2 separate regions of the Homo sapiens genome follow, and region 1 is linked to region 2. The links are contacts of gene promoters, found by promoter capture Hi-C in blood cells and fetal thymus (Javierre and others, 2016). All regions are on one chromosome and are shown on one strand. Each heading gives the region's core, a stretch centred on a gene start or on the middle of the fragment in contact. The rest is flanking DNA. Distances are from core to core; before and after follow the strand shown. Region 1 overlaps NBEA (neurobeachin). Region 2 holds the start of STARD13 (StAR related lipid transfer domain containing 13).

The links. The method cuts DNA at HindIII sites, captures the fragments that hold promoters and counts their contacts. A CHiCAGO score of 5 or more calls a contact.
Region 1: a fragment that was not itself captured here is called in contact with the fragment with the promoter of STARD13 in region 2 in 1 of 17 cell types (M0 macrophages); the score reaches 5.4 in M0 macrophages.

What each region holds. Positions count from the first base shown.
Region 1 is chr13:35,161,998-35,169,612 of GRCh38, forward strand. NBEA (neurobeachin) reads left to right here. Exons shown (of 59, transcript NM_001385012.1): 24 at 2,359-2,512; 25 at 6,990-6,998. Among named protein-coding and RNA genes, the nearest start is that of NBEA, 220 kb to the left of the region's middle. The HindIII fragment of the contact is 936 bases long and covers 2,305-3,240 here.
Region 2 is chr13:33,282,737-33,289,599 of GRCh38, forward strand. It overlaps STARD13 (StAR related lipid transfer domain containing 13), which reads right to left and starts at 3,019. Exons shown (of 14, transcript NM_178006.4): 1 at 2,734-3,019. The coding sequence starts at 2,902. RefSeq lists enhancers at 3,122-3,181, 3,192-3,321. The HindIII fragment of the contact is 3,531 bases long and covers 313-3,843 here.

The DNA of each region.
Region 1 (7,615 bases), core at 1,523-4,022, 1.9 Mb after region 2:
GCAAATATTTAAAATATGCCATTGCCTATTCTATTTGGTTTTGACAAAACCAAAAATCTGCCTTGATTAAAGGAATTTCCACATTTTTCTTGTATCTTGTTTAAATTAATACCATGTACTAAATTTATTAGTGATAATAATATATACTGTTTAAGTTTAAAATCACCCTGTGACATGTGTATTCAGAGCCTGTAGTATTTAAGCAGTTAGTGGATATCAGTTCAAAGATGATAACTTAGACAACAAATCTACATAAAGTAAACCATGGCCTTTCTAAATTTTCAATTTAATTTTTTAATAGTAAATGTGAAACAAATTAATTAAGAGAGCACATCATTTACATAGGCATGAATACAATTAGGAAGTCGATGGATATAAGTAGCAAGGGCAACTTAAATGATCTAGCACAACATTCTTAGAAATGTTGGCTTCCATGCTTCTCCTCATTTTCCTTTTAGGATTCAAGGTGGCTGCTTCAGCTCCCAACCTCAATTCATAAGAAACCTGCCCAAATTAAAAGGCAGAGATGACTCTTCTTCCTTCCTCTTCTTCCTGTTTTTCCTCTGCCTCCTCTTCTTCTCTCTCCTCTTTCACTTTCTCTTTTTCTTCTCCTCTTTTCTTCTTTTTTTTAAAGGAAGCCCGTCAAGAAATTTCCCCCTTATATCTCGTGAGCCAGCAGGATCACATCCTCTTTCAAAATCAATCATCAGAAAAAGAAAATGGGATTATAATGACTGGCTTTTAGAGACTAATACTGGTTAATTAACTAGTAACTAGGGTTAGGCTAGTCTTTCCTATACCCAGTCAAGCTCAATAATAAAACAAAATATAAAATGTGTGTTAGCAGGGAAAAAGTTATGACTGTTGTGGAAGAAGTCAATAAAGTCTGCCATAGAAAGATTTTACTTTTGATTTTATTTGATCAATTTGTTCTTAGACTACTCATATACTTTCATTGCTAATTGTTATATGATAAATTACCTAGAGATGGTAACTGAGGAAACCTAAATACCATGAAATACATTGCTATTAACATGAAGACCAATGTATGGAGATAAATTATGTAATTTGATAATTATAATATCAGTAGCCTCCAAGTGAGTGATACTCAGCTTTTTTTCCAACCACCTACTCTGTGTTTTTGTTTTCTTTAATGGGCTCTCATGAAATTACCCAGGTAGAATTTAATGTAATTTAAATTTTTTAAAGGTAACACTTTATTTTTAGGACAGAGAGAAACATCTTGAAATTTAAGATACACAGTGATAGATAATAATTCACAACTCTAAAAGGGTGAGAATTATTGACTCAATTTTGACCATGAAGTAATTTCTTTTTTTTAATCTTATTTTTTTCCCATTAAAAAACAGTTCAGGCTAGGTGTGGTGGCTCACACCTATAATCCCAGCACTTTGGGAGGCCAAGGCGGGAGGATAGCTGGAGCTCAGGAGTTCGAGACCAGGGCAAGACCCTGTTTTTACAAACATTAACTAGGCGTGGTGGTGTCCACCTGTAGTCCCAGCTACTCGGGAATCTCCTGGGCCCAGGGAGGTTGAGGATGCACTAAGCCATGATCCCACCACTACACTCTAGCCTGGGTGACAGCAGAGATCCTTTCTCAAAAAAAAAAAAAAAATTATATTCTTGACTGACACCAAACGAAAGCAGGGTATTTTTTTGACATCTACATTGTATGTTTTGTATGAGAACACTGTACTACCAACTTACTTTGAGATTTTTTCCTTTTCTTATTAAATAAGTTCTTGAATTTGTACTGATTTATTTATACTCCCCTATCATGTCACTTCTTTAGCAGTATACATTTCAATGTGACTAGTCAAAGGTGGGGCTGAAGTCATTGGGGATGTGACAAATTGAAACTGCCTACAAAATAGAACTTTCAGTTAAATTTTTAGGTTTTCGGTTTCAAATTTTATTTATGGTTATGAAAATTTTGAATTGGTTATATTTTGAGTTTCCATATTATTTTTAACATTAGACATACTTTTTATATTTAAAAGGTTTTGCCTTTCAACAAAAAACAATCAGATTTGGCAAAATAAATATTTTTAGCCAAATTTGTTGAGTCAGTCATATGTCTTAGAATCTAGTACTGTATTTTTCAAGCAAAGTAATAATATAATGAGTTAATATACTTGGATACAACAAAATCCTGTGGAGATGAATGCTTAGTTTTTGGTAATATGATATCTCAATTATAAATTGCTTTATTTTATAATTTAATTTTAAATATAGCTAGCTCCTACAGTTCTATAATTTTTCACTTGTTATTCTAATTGTCTAAGCTTTTCATTTAAGTAAGCCAAAACATACTCATTTCTGTTTTCTGTATTTTAGCCATTCTACAAAGTCTGTAATGGATTTTGTCAATAGCAATGAAAATATTATTTTTGTACATAACACAATTCACCTCATTTCCCAAATGGTAGACAACATCATCATTGCTTGTGGAGGAATTTTACCTTTGCTCTCTGCTGCTACATCACCAACTGTAAGTACTTTGCCTCCATCTAGTGGTTATATTTTATAAATACATGACTTTAGCATTTCAGTGGTGGTCTAGGCTATAAACACATTTTAACCAGACCTGTACTTTTTAGGCAAATTTTTAACCATTTAAATTTCTATTTCCACCACTTTTGTTTATCAGTGTTGGGTTCCAGCTGTGTGTGCTTATGAAAATGTTTCTCTGGTAATTCTGATGAATACTTCATCAGAAGAGTATTGCATTCTTCATCAAAGATATTGTATATCTCTTCAAATCTGTAGTATAAATAAACTCTTAAAATCCTTGTTATTTAACATTTTCATTTATTTACTGATTCAACATTTATTTTACAAAATCTAGCCTTGTCTTGATTTGTTTCTATATAAAACATTGAAATGTGTTAATATAATACATTTTAAAGGCATTTAATGTTAATTGTGTATGTCATTTAAAATAAAATAGGTCAATGTTAACTTTGTATTTTAGTTGTCATTAAAAACAAATTCTTTGATTCAGACCAAGGCAGACTCCATAGCTACTTGCTCAGATGGGAAAGAATATAGAATTTTGCTTCCCATATTACCCACGTTCTTGTTGCCGTATTAGAAACTCATCCTTAAGCTCAGAAAGCATACCTTTGCCAGAGGGAAATATTTCATTTTACTAAGATGTGCTTTAGTTGGTGAGACACTGTTTCCAAGTTGATCTCTAAGTGTATTTCATCATTAACAAGCTTTTTCTACATGACTCTTTTTCTTACTGTTCTTTTGTTAATGCCACCACCATCACCAGAGCAGCCTTGAAACTTCAACATTAGCAGCCATAGGCTATATCCTCACACACTTTCCCCAGGCCTTACTCTTCTGTTTTATTCATGAATTTGCTCAAGAAGTCCACAAAGGGAAGCATTCCAGTTCAGAAGGAGGAATGCAACAGAGCAAGTCACCAGTAGGGCCTTAATCAAATTAGCAGCTGAACCAAGGAAATGGAGCTAAGAAGAACAGTATAAATTGTTGATGGTGTGTGAAGAGTGCAAGTATACATACACCACTCCTTTTCTTTAATCTCTCTTTTCCTCTGGTGATTTATACCAAATTCTGGTAAATTGAGAGTTGTGTATGATTTTTAAAATGCTTTCTAATAGTGAGACATAGAGGGCATTTTTTTCTTCTCTTTTCTTTTCTTTTTTTTTTTTTTTGACAGAGTATCATTCTGTGACCCAGGCTGGAGCAGAGTAGGGCGATCTCAGCTCACTGCAACCTCCGCCTCCTGGGTTCAAGCAATTCCTCTGCCTCAGCCTCCCAAGTAGCTGGGATTATAGGTGTGCACCACCACACCCAGCTAATTTTTGTATTTTTAGTAGTTATGGGGTTTCACTATGTTGGCCAGGCTGGTTTCAAACTCCTGACCTCAAATGATCTGCCTGTCTCAACCTCCCAAAGTGCAGGGATTACAGGCATGAGCCACTGCTCCCGGCCAACGTGTTTTTTGTTTTATATATTGAAGACTGAATAAATCAATATTTTCTTTGTGACATTTTTCTTGATCATATAAATTGCATTTTGTTTTATAAATTATCATTTGTTATGAAGAAATTTTTAAAAGGTTGTATTGAAATTCACTTTGAAATGTAATATTGAATGTTTTTAAATTTTGCATGGAACATAAAATGCTTCTTATGTAAAAAAAACAGTTTAGCAATAAGTTATTTCAATTTGTATAGGTTTAAAATATTCACATTACTAAATAGTTTTCCAAATTTTAAAGGCAAAAGATCTTTAACTATTAAGATAGAATATTAAAGTAATGAAGTAAACTATAACATACATACTATTGCACCAGTCAAATTTGCTTATTTGTTTTATGATGATTGTACAGTAAAGATACTGACGCTTTGAGGTTGGCTTCCAAAATTATTACGATTCAATTTTGACCACTGTAGTTTGGAATTTAAAATTATTTATTACCTAGACTATCTCAACAGACTTGGGAATTCATTCAATTATAGAAACCTTTGTTTATTTTCTCAATTTCTATATTTCTGTTATTTTGGCCCATTAACTGTTTGGACCTATGCCTGGTTGTACAACATAGCTGATTTTATGTTTTTAGAATGAATTGCTTCCTTAAGAGAAATAGCCGAACCTTTCTCCCATTTTGTATCTGGTAGAACTATGATTGGTGCTGACTGCTGAATGTTGTTTTTCTATTATGAATGTTGTTTTTGTATTACTGGGTTGTATAATATTCTTGCTAGAAGTTGTAACATAGCAGAGGGAAAAAGTTGGGAAAGAGGAGGTTGAATAATGAGGGAAATTAAACCGAATATTTGGGCTTTTTATATTTAAATTTAAAGTGTAAAAAGCCAAAAGAGAATTTTGGAAGGGATAAGTGAAAAAAGGAAACATTGGCAACGTGAAGATTACTGAAAGGAAACATTGTCTTGTAGGTGCTTTTAGAATTTTAATCCTAGATATATGAAGAGAGATGGAAACATTTGAAACTAAGGTTTGAGTGAGCTGGTAATTTTGTTTATATATATATAGTTTTTCAGAATATTCTTGTGTGCATTTTATGAAGAAATAGGAATAATAATGGTTTATGGCAGTAGTTCACAAACTTTTGTGTATGGGGCCAGATGGGAAATAGTTTAGGTTTCATTGGCAGTATTGTTATCTGTCACAGCTAGTCAACTCTGCTGTGATAGTACAAAAGCAGCAATAGACAATACATAAACAAATATTTTTTGTCTGCTGTTTCTGTGAGATTGACATAGAAGTGGTCTCTTTTCTGCCCTGGAAATTTAGATGAGTACAGTAATTTATACTAGAGATAACATTTTTGTATTGCTGTTATAGTATCATCATCATGGAAGAAAATTTTTGAACTGTTTAATCTTAGTTGGAAGGTACATATCTTAATGGAAACTTAAGAAAAAAAGAACATATATATATTGTTTATAATGATAGTTTGAGCACCTTGAACTTAGTACTCTTGAAGAAGCAGCACTTTATGGGAGTTTCAGTTTTGCCCAGATTACTTAAATTCATATGTAGCATAGAAAATAAATTACAAAAATAGTTTCAGATCTCCGAGTTAGACCAATAGTTTTAACTGTACTCAGGGAAAAAAAATAGACCTCTTAGTATGTAGTTTGGCCAATCTTTGCTTTGGGAAAGCAGCATTATTTTTGTTGTTGTTGATTTTTTTAGTTGATGTTTCTGTGACTAGTTAATTGAATCCTCTCATTTATTCTCTAATATATTGTTTAACTTGGTCATAAATGAAAGTGAAAAATTGGAGAAGAAAAAGAAAAGCAAAGAACATGGATCAACCACAAATTGCACACTTTGTGATTTTAAGTTGACCACTTTAGTCAGCCATCCAGAACACTGAATATTATGGAGCTTAATTCAGGGCTTAATTTTCTCTGTCCCAGAAAAATAGTAGAGACTGACATTTCTAGCTCTCCTAATAGTTTCATAATTATAAGAAAGAAGAGCTGCTTTTTCTATTCTGTCCAAAAATAACAAAGTCTTAATTTTAGTTTATTTTTATTATCAGAATGTATCATAAATAGATTTGGAAAAATTATGAATAATGTTGTTGGTTTTGCTGTTCTTTTGTTTATGTCATAGGACTGATCATACTTTACTATTCTCAGGATGCTTTTATATGTTTTCCTATACAATGTACCATGAAAATAGCATATTTTAAGATTTATACTCACATGTACTTGTCAAAAATTAGAAAGAATAGTTGATGATTTTTATTGTGAAAACTAATTCTATCTGATATTTGAATATAATGAATATAATTATTAATGTAATAAGAATCTTAAACTTAGTATAATACCTATTTAATTACCTTTATTCATATTCAGGCCTCATTTAGTATATCAAGTTATTTTCTAGCATGGAAAAGTGGTTTATAAGTTATAATCTCTCAAATATTTTGTTATTTTATTAACTTCTCAGAATTTTCAACTATAGGAAGCTTTCTGTATATTTGAGAATACAAATTACATTATTTCCTTATAGAAAATTCTAGAGGTTGGTATAAATAGTTCATTTCCCTGAGTCATTTCTGCCTAAACCAGAATTGAGGTAGGGATTTTGCAGAGGCATTATGTTAGCTTATTTATTAAAATGTTCCATTAATTATAGGAAAAGATACTTGTTTTGTAAAATAGAGTATGCATTATTTCTAATATATGAACTATACTTATATATATTATTTGGGCAGAGTTACTACAATAAAAATAAGTTGAAGTCTAAATATTTGATATTTAACCTTGATCATGTATAATTTATAAAATGAAAATCTCTTCTGAGAATTTTGCTTTTAATAAAATAATCAAATATAATTTTTAAATATATTATTTTGTGTTTCAATTTTACATTGTATTTTCATTTAATTTAATAATTTCCTTTTCTTGTACTTTTTGGTCTGTTGTCTGTTTTGTCTAATGCATGTCCAGGGTTCTAAGGTTAGTATTACTTTTGTAGTAATTTTCAGCTTTCAGTTTCAAGTTTTATTTTTACTTATTTATGAAATTTTTGACTTGGTTATATTTTGAGTTTTCATATCATCTTTAACATGAGACATATCTTTTGTATATTTAAAAGAGTCATTGAAAGGATTATTTTCCCAATGCATTGATGTATTACTATTTTATTATGCACAATAATCCCTAGATTAAACTATCATATTGAACACAATGGTGTTACAGTCATATGTACAATCAGATTTTAATTGGTTCTAAGGAAAGTAAATTGGATGAAATATATTATTTTAAGATTTAATAATTGTATGAGAGTGATCTTTATTTTTTAGCCCTATCTTTTGATGCTTACATACTTCATTTTTTAAATTACTTTTATATAAAATGGAATACAAATTCTCTTTTAGACTGTTGTGTTGAAAGTGCCTTCTACTCTAAAATTTAATTTTTTCAGTCAAAAAAACACTTTGATGGATTATATGGACACCTTAATAATTCTATTTATAATTCACTCATTTTAAAATGAAAGCATAGTTTGACAGGTCAAAACACTCAAAACCATTAAATAATGAATATAGAGAGATAGCTATCTGCAATTTCAG
Region 2 (6,863 bases), core at 1,769-4,268:
CTGTTAGTGACAGGGCACAATGGCTCACATTTGTAATCCCCGCACTTTGTGAGGCTGAGGTAGGAAGATCACTTGAGCCCAGGAGTTTGAGACCAGCCTGCGCAATATAGTGAGACCCTGTCTCTATAAAAAAGTTTTAAAAATTAGCCAGGCATGGTGGCACACTCCTGTAAGTCTCAGCTACTGAGGAGGCTGAGGTGGAAGGATCGCTTGAGCCCAGGAGGTCAATGCTACAGTGAACTATGATCACACCACTGCACTCCAGCCTCGGCGACAGAGTAAGACTCTGTCTCAAAAACAAAAAGAAAACAAAGCTTTTAGTAAAATAACTTGACATCCTGTGTTATTGGGTAGTAACTGGTTAAAGAGAATAAAACATGTAGCACTTTGTTTCCACTAGAGAAATATAACCTGACAGGAAATTTCATAATGAGTGACCAATTCTGGTCCTATAATATAGTGTATTGCTGTATCCTGAGTAGAAAAGTCTAAAAAGTCTCTAGTATATTATATAATCTGAAACTCAATCATAGGTTCAGTACTTTAGCACTCATTATAAAAACTAAAAAATAGTCTAGTGTATTGCAGAGCATGGACTGTCAAGCTGTATTCAAGTATCAGTTCCTACTGGGTGACCTTGGATAAGATGCTTGAAATCTGTGTGCCTCTGTTTTCTCATCTGTAAAATGGGCATAATAAAAAAAATTAACTACAATGATTTTGGTATGCTGTAACTGTTTAATCCACATTCTCTGAAATTACAGTAAACCAATCTTCTAATACAATAAACTCAATAAAATTGTTTCACATTGCTTTCTCATTGTCTTACTAAAGAGTTGTATGATGTTAACACATAATGATTTCTGAATCACAAGACTGTTGGAAATCTTTATTGCTTCCCTGTGATCTTAACTGTCAGTTTTAAGTGTTAGGCATTCATTGACTTCAAACACTCCATTGCCCAGTATAAAAAAGAGGGAATTCTCAAATTACCTAATTAGACAAAAATGAAACATAAACTGAGGGTGCCCATATGTCTGTGTGACAGGGCACGTTCAGTGATAGTGCATGTGTTCACAACTTCAAATCTTGAATGGAAAAATAACCCTCATTCCAAAAAGAACATAAATAATATTTAAATAAAATAAATTATTGTAAATACATCTAAGGAGGTCTGCAAAGCAATTTCAGCTAGTTCTCTGCAATATTTCTCATATGATATGCATGCTGAGGAACATTTATATCTTGTAGATGATAGCGCATCATTAAGCCTCGGTGTTCATAAAGATGATGGCATTTGGAAAGGCACCATTGTCAGAAATTTCTAAAACCAAAGTGGAGCTGGTTTTTATTCTAAGCCTAAAGTATTTTTAAATCTAGCCACAGGGAAATAATTACTTTTGTTTCTATTCAATCAAGACCTGGACACAGAGTTTATGCAATGACATAATATCCTTCCTGAAATCAGACCAGCATGTAGGAAGGACCAGCATCCTTCACACATAACTAGTTCCTGAACCTTTACAAACAAATCCTAATTTCCAAGGAAACAATCTCATCAAATGCTGCCCGCTAGAATACATATTGTTCTTTCTGGAAACATTACAATAAGATTTTCATGATTACAAACCCCAACTTCCTCTTTAATATTCAATATAATCTTAAACTCATTTATTTAAGTGGAAACTGTATTTTTATAATGGCTCTAAAAATTCCTGGTTAACTTATTTAGCACCAATATAATAATTTCTTTTTTTGTTGTGTAGGAGGAGGGTGATCATTAACTGACTGTCAACGTGTGTTAGGGGCTTCTTAGGAACGGCTCTAAAAATTCCTGGTTAACTTATTTAGCACCAATATAATAATTTCTTTTTTGTAGTCTAGGAGGAGGGTGATCATTAACTGACTGTAAACGTGTGTGTTAGGGGCTTCTTAGGAATGTTCGTCTTTCTGCTTTCTACTGATATACCCTATAAGGAGCATGTTTTAAATTTTTTTTTTTTTTGAGACTGGTAAATTTTAGTAATGTCCAGACTTCCAGGCTGGTATTTTGAGGGGCTGGGAATAAAAAGAATATCAAGCAGCTTATAATCAATATTCTCTTCTCTTTGCATTAGGAAGCTGGAGTTTTGTGTGCAGGTTACGGGATTTGTTTTGAGATGAACGAACACCTTAATTCTCTACCAGGAAAACAATATTAACACATCTGTGGCAACTGCTGACATAAACATACAAACAGGAAGAGAATGCGATTCTAGTGCTTAGCCTGGTGGCCTTTAGAACAGAATTCTTGCTTTCCTCCTCTTCACTAAGGATATTCGAAATACTCTGGGCAGGGTGGACATTAGTCCCTCGCCTCCTCCCTAATGAAATAAACAAGTGTCCACATTTTAAATGTGACGGAGTGTGAGGAAACTGCAGAAAAGCTCCTAAGATACACACTGAGTAACAGTTCTCATCTGTTCTGTAGACACACGTCAGTTTGGGAATTTATGATTCACTGTCCCACCGTGAAGTTTTTTGTGCACTTTATGTTGAGCTATGTGGCAGCTAAGGACTGTCCTGTTTGCTGAAAACTGCAGCCTAAAGTTATTTTTCAAAGTTACGGGTAGTGTGGCATAGAAATCCATATGTTATAAAGTGGAAACAAACAAACAAAAAAAACTGGGTTAGCATGAAATAGAGCCAACAGAAATCAGAATGAGCAACAGCCTTCCACTGCCGGCCACTCACCTTGTTGAATTTTAGTCACTAGCTGATGGCGTGCTAGAATCCGGCTCATCCTGTAAGGAGAGCGTCTTGTAGTCTGATCAAATCGCAAGTACATCTCCTGGCCCTCAGGTGTCATGGAATTTAGGTAGTAGCAGCCTGAGGCTGGGGTCCTGGGCACCTGACTGAACATCTCGGCAGATTTCCTATTGCCACCTCAGTCTGCCTGTGGCTGTTGCCGTCTGTCTCCAGTCTCAGTCAAAGAGCAAGGCACCCAGCCCAGGACAGCTCAACAGACCCAGCGATTTTTAAAAAGAAAGAGGAGTGCCAAAGCCACAACTCAGAATTCCAACCCCCGGGGCCCTCACGTGACCTCGGGAACCAATGAGAGGAAGAGAGGAAAATGGGAACGTTTGCAGTCAGCCCTAAGCCCCGACCAGAGGCAGTTCCAGCCGCCAGGGTCCCTCACACAACGCTGAAAGCAAAATACACGTATTTGACGTGCCTCAGAGCTGACGAAGCACCCAAAAGCAGCCCTCACTAAAGGAGTCGAAAGAAAAAGAGAGAGGGAAGGGCAAAACAAGTAGAAGACAAACAAGTCCAGGGCTCAGGAAACTTTTCAGCCTGTCAAAGTTAGAGAAAGCTCCTTCGCTTTCTACAGGGCAGCAGCAGCCAGGTAAAAGATGGACCTGATAAATCTCTTAAATTTAAAAAACACAACACAACAAAAAAAAACTACTTCAAACAAGCATCAACAGCTGAGCGTAAGCCACCACCTTCATTATCAAGAAACAACTCAAATAAAAACTTTTCCAGTGAAAAATAAACTTCAAGGGCTTTAACACCAGGAGTGAATACACCACAGATCCTGACCCTCACGTGATGGGAATTGGAGGGCTCTTACAGATAAGACTCAGAGAGGCAAAGTACACACGCGTTACGTATTAAGCATCCTTTCCTCTTTGATTTCTCTACTTCCCCAATTTTTAATCACCTAGAGGTAAAATACTTAGAAGGTGCCTATCACATTTAAGACACTGAATCATTTAAGACAAGAATCACTGCAGAAGTTGCAAAGGTACTTCAAAGATACTGTCATCAACCTGCTAAGGACCCATTGAGAAGTTATACAAAAGCTTCTAACATGAGGCCATATATATGTCTCAAAAAGGACGCAAACACAATGCTAGGTGAGCAATATTATTTTTGACTGGGGTGATGATTGCAAGCCAGATAGAGAAAGAGACATTTGGATAGGCTTTTTAAAATGGGGGGAATTCTGATAGGCAGAGGCTGGGGAGGGCTTTGCAAGAGACTGTAGGTACCCATGTGTGCAGATCCAGAACCAGAGTATATGGTTTAAGCAAACTGCTAGTAATTCAGTTTGGCCATATCTGAGTGTGTGTGTATATATATACGTGTATATATATATGTGTGTATATATATGTGTATATATGTGTGTATATATATACATACACACACTGAGTGACATATATGTATATGTCATTATAATTTTCCCTGTTTTTCTTCTTTAACATTGTTTGATGTGAAGAGAAAAAGTCCACAGAAAACATGTTATCAAATTCTGAGCCTGGGGCTGAAAGAATAAAGTTCTTTGATACAAAAAGTATATGACCAAGTTGCTTCTACATTTGGCTGACGGAAACATAGCCTGGCTGGGAATTTATAGTCTAATAATGAGAAATTATTTCTACATTATTTCCAAATTAAAAGTTTAACAGGATTTAAATTAGGACTTTGATTCTTCTTACTCTGGCTCTCCGAGGCCCATAAGCCTTAACAACTTTCCCTGAGGGAATTGTTGCTAGCCTGATTCTGAGAAGCAGCTCGTCTTGTATAACTGTCCCGCTATGAGAATAAACAAGTTAAGCACGATCTCTGCAGCCCAGCATGTGACAATTGCCTACTACCTCACGTAGTTGGTAATTGTCAGCCTCTTCGGGTGGTTACACAAGAGTCATCATGTCTTTGTTTTCAGGTTGGCTTCATGGCAGGAAGGGAAAGAAAGATCTATGGGGCCATACTGTGCACTTTCCATTCTTATTTAGGATTTGAGCAGCAGTTTTTCTGTTCCATAGCATCGTCTGTGGAAGGTGAAAGGGATCTGAGACCTAAGGAACTGCTCGGCAGAAGCTCGAATGGAGAAAGGTCGAGCACCATATTGCAAAGTTGGCTGCCTGGAAGGTTCATGAGCCCAGCTCAGTCCGCACCGGTGGCCGTCCAATTAAGGTGCTTGCATCAGCTGCTTTGTGCACGTGCTTTCGGCTTGATGGTCCAACACTGGGAGCATCTGTGTCATAACTTTTTGTTCAAGGCAGACACTTGGTGGTTATCACTTTTTTACTGGAAGAGAATGGAAGGAGGGTGGAGAGAGAAAGAAGAGGGGAGCATGGGACTTGAGAACATTGAACATGTTCTGGGAAACCAAGTAAAGGTGAGGAAAAGGTAAAAAGGTAAAGGTGAGGAAAAAATACGTAGCTTTTTATAGCTTTGGAGAGCACTTAAAGATAGACCGGCCATTTCCAATGCCAACCTTGCAGTTCATTGCTGACTTGGCTGCATTCTATTATGAAAACAAGTGGAATGATTCTTCCTGAGAAGGATTGCAGTGTGTCAAGGCGAGGTTACTAGATAAAACAATAACAACGACAATAAAACTTACATTGTCTCCTTTTTGCATAGTCATGAATGTGTTGAAAGTGCTGGGGTGTCTGGTTCTGAAAACATTAAGATCATAAGTTTGTATTTATGACTACATATAATATTTCATTAAAATAATCTTAGCAATAAAGAGCAAGAATTGAATTTATTTATTTATTTTTAAGATGGTGCCTCACTCTGTCTCCCAGGCTGGATTGCAGTGGCGCAATCATAGTTCACTGTAGTCTCCAACTCCTGGGCTCAAGTGATTCTCTTGCCTCAGCCTCCCAAGTAGCTGAGACTCCAGGTGCACACCATCACACCTGGCCAATTAAAAAAAAAAAAGTTGTAGAGATGGGGGTCTCTCTTTGCTTCCTAAGCTGATGGCAAACTCCTGGCTTCCAGCATTTCTCCTGCCTCAGCTTCCCAAAGTGGTAGGATTACAGGCGTGACCAATCACACTTGGCCCTACATTTTTTTTTTTAAAAAAAGGGAATTTTTATTCCCTAATTAAAAAAAAAAAGCCAACTTAGAATGAAGCCTCATTTTTTCAAAAAATCAGCCAGCATTTTAATAAGGGGCTCTAGGAAGGATCACATATCAACATTTGGTTTTCTGTATGCATATACAGGGCCGCTAAAGTTTTATTTCATAGTTCAAGTAGTATCTATAAATTCATGTACCTGCTCACCATGTTTTTGTCATTTTGTATTTCCAAGGTACTATATTTAAAGCAAATATGTAACATTATTTTCTCATTAGCATGTCATTAGTACCTTGTTTTATGCTAAAGTATTGCCATTGCTATGAAACTTGTATTTTTTAAATAAATTCTTTTTTGTGATCATATAGTCCCCGTGTTAGAAGAATTACCACTGGGGTAGACAGGTCTGTTGTATTAGAATCAAGAAGTGGCTAGTTCTCTCTCTGGCTTTTCCTTTACAGGCAACTGAGAGAGCTGGTCCTCTTCTCCAGTGAGTGCATGAAGTCCTATGGAATCAAAGAGGGAGAGAGTGCCCAAATCACAAGCATCTTCCAGGACTGACACCATATCTCTTCCTCTCTAATTCCTTTAAAAATGAGGAAAACAGATGGCACTTGTGTTCAGTTTTCACCTACTTTTCTTCCCTCCTAATCTGCTCATCAATTGTGATCTTCAGTAAGACTATTTCAGGAGTGAGATAAACAGATGGTTACTGAGAACCAAAGACAGCAAAAGAGAAGGGAAAGGAAAGAGGAGAGAAGGGAACAGCATTGAGCACCTACTATGTGCCAGGTCTGAAGCCTTCATGGCTTCACATTTTAGGTTTTTTAACATTAATCTCCACAGCTATCACTGGAGGTATCTGATTGGATGGAAAGGAGGCTAAGATTCACAGAAGTCACAAAGCAAGCAAGTGCAGAGCCTTTGTGCATCTCCAAGCTGATGCTATTTTCACTCTTTTCACTATTACACAGGAGAGACAGGGAAGGAAAAACACGGCACCGAAAAG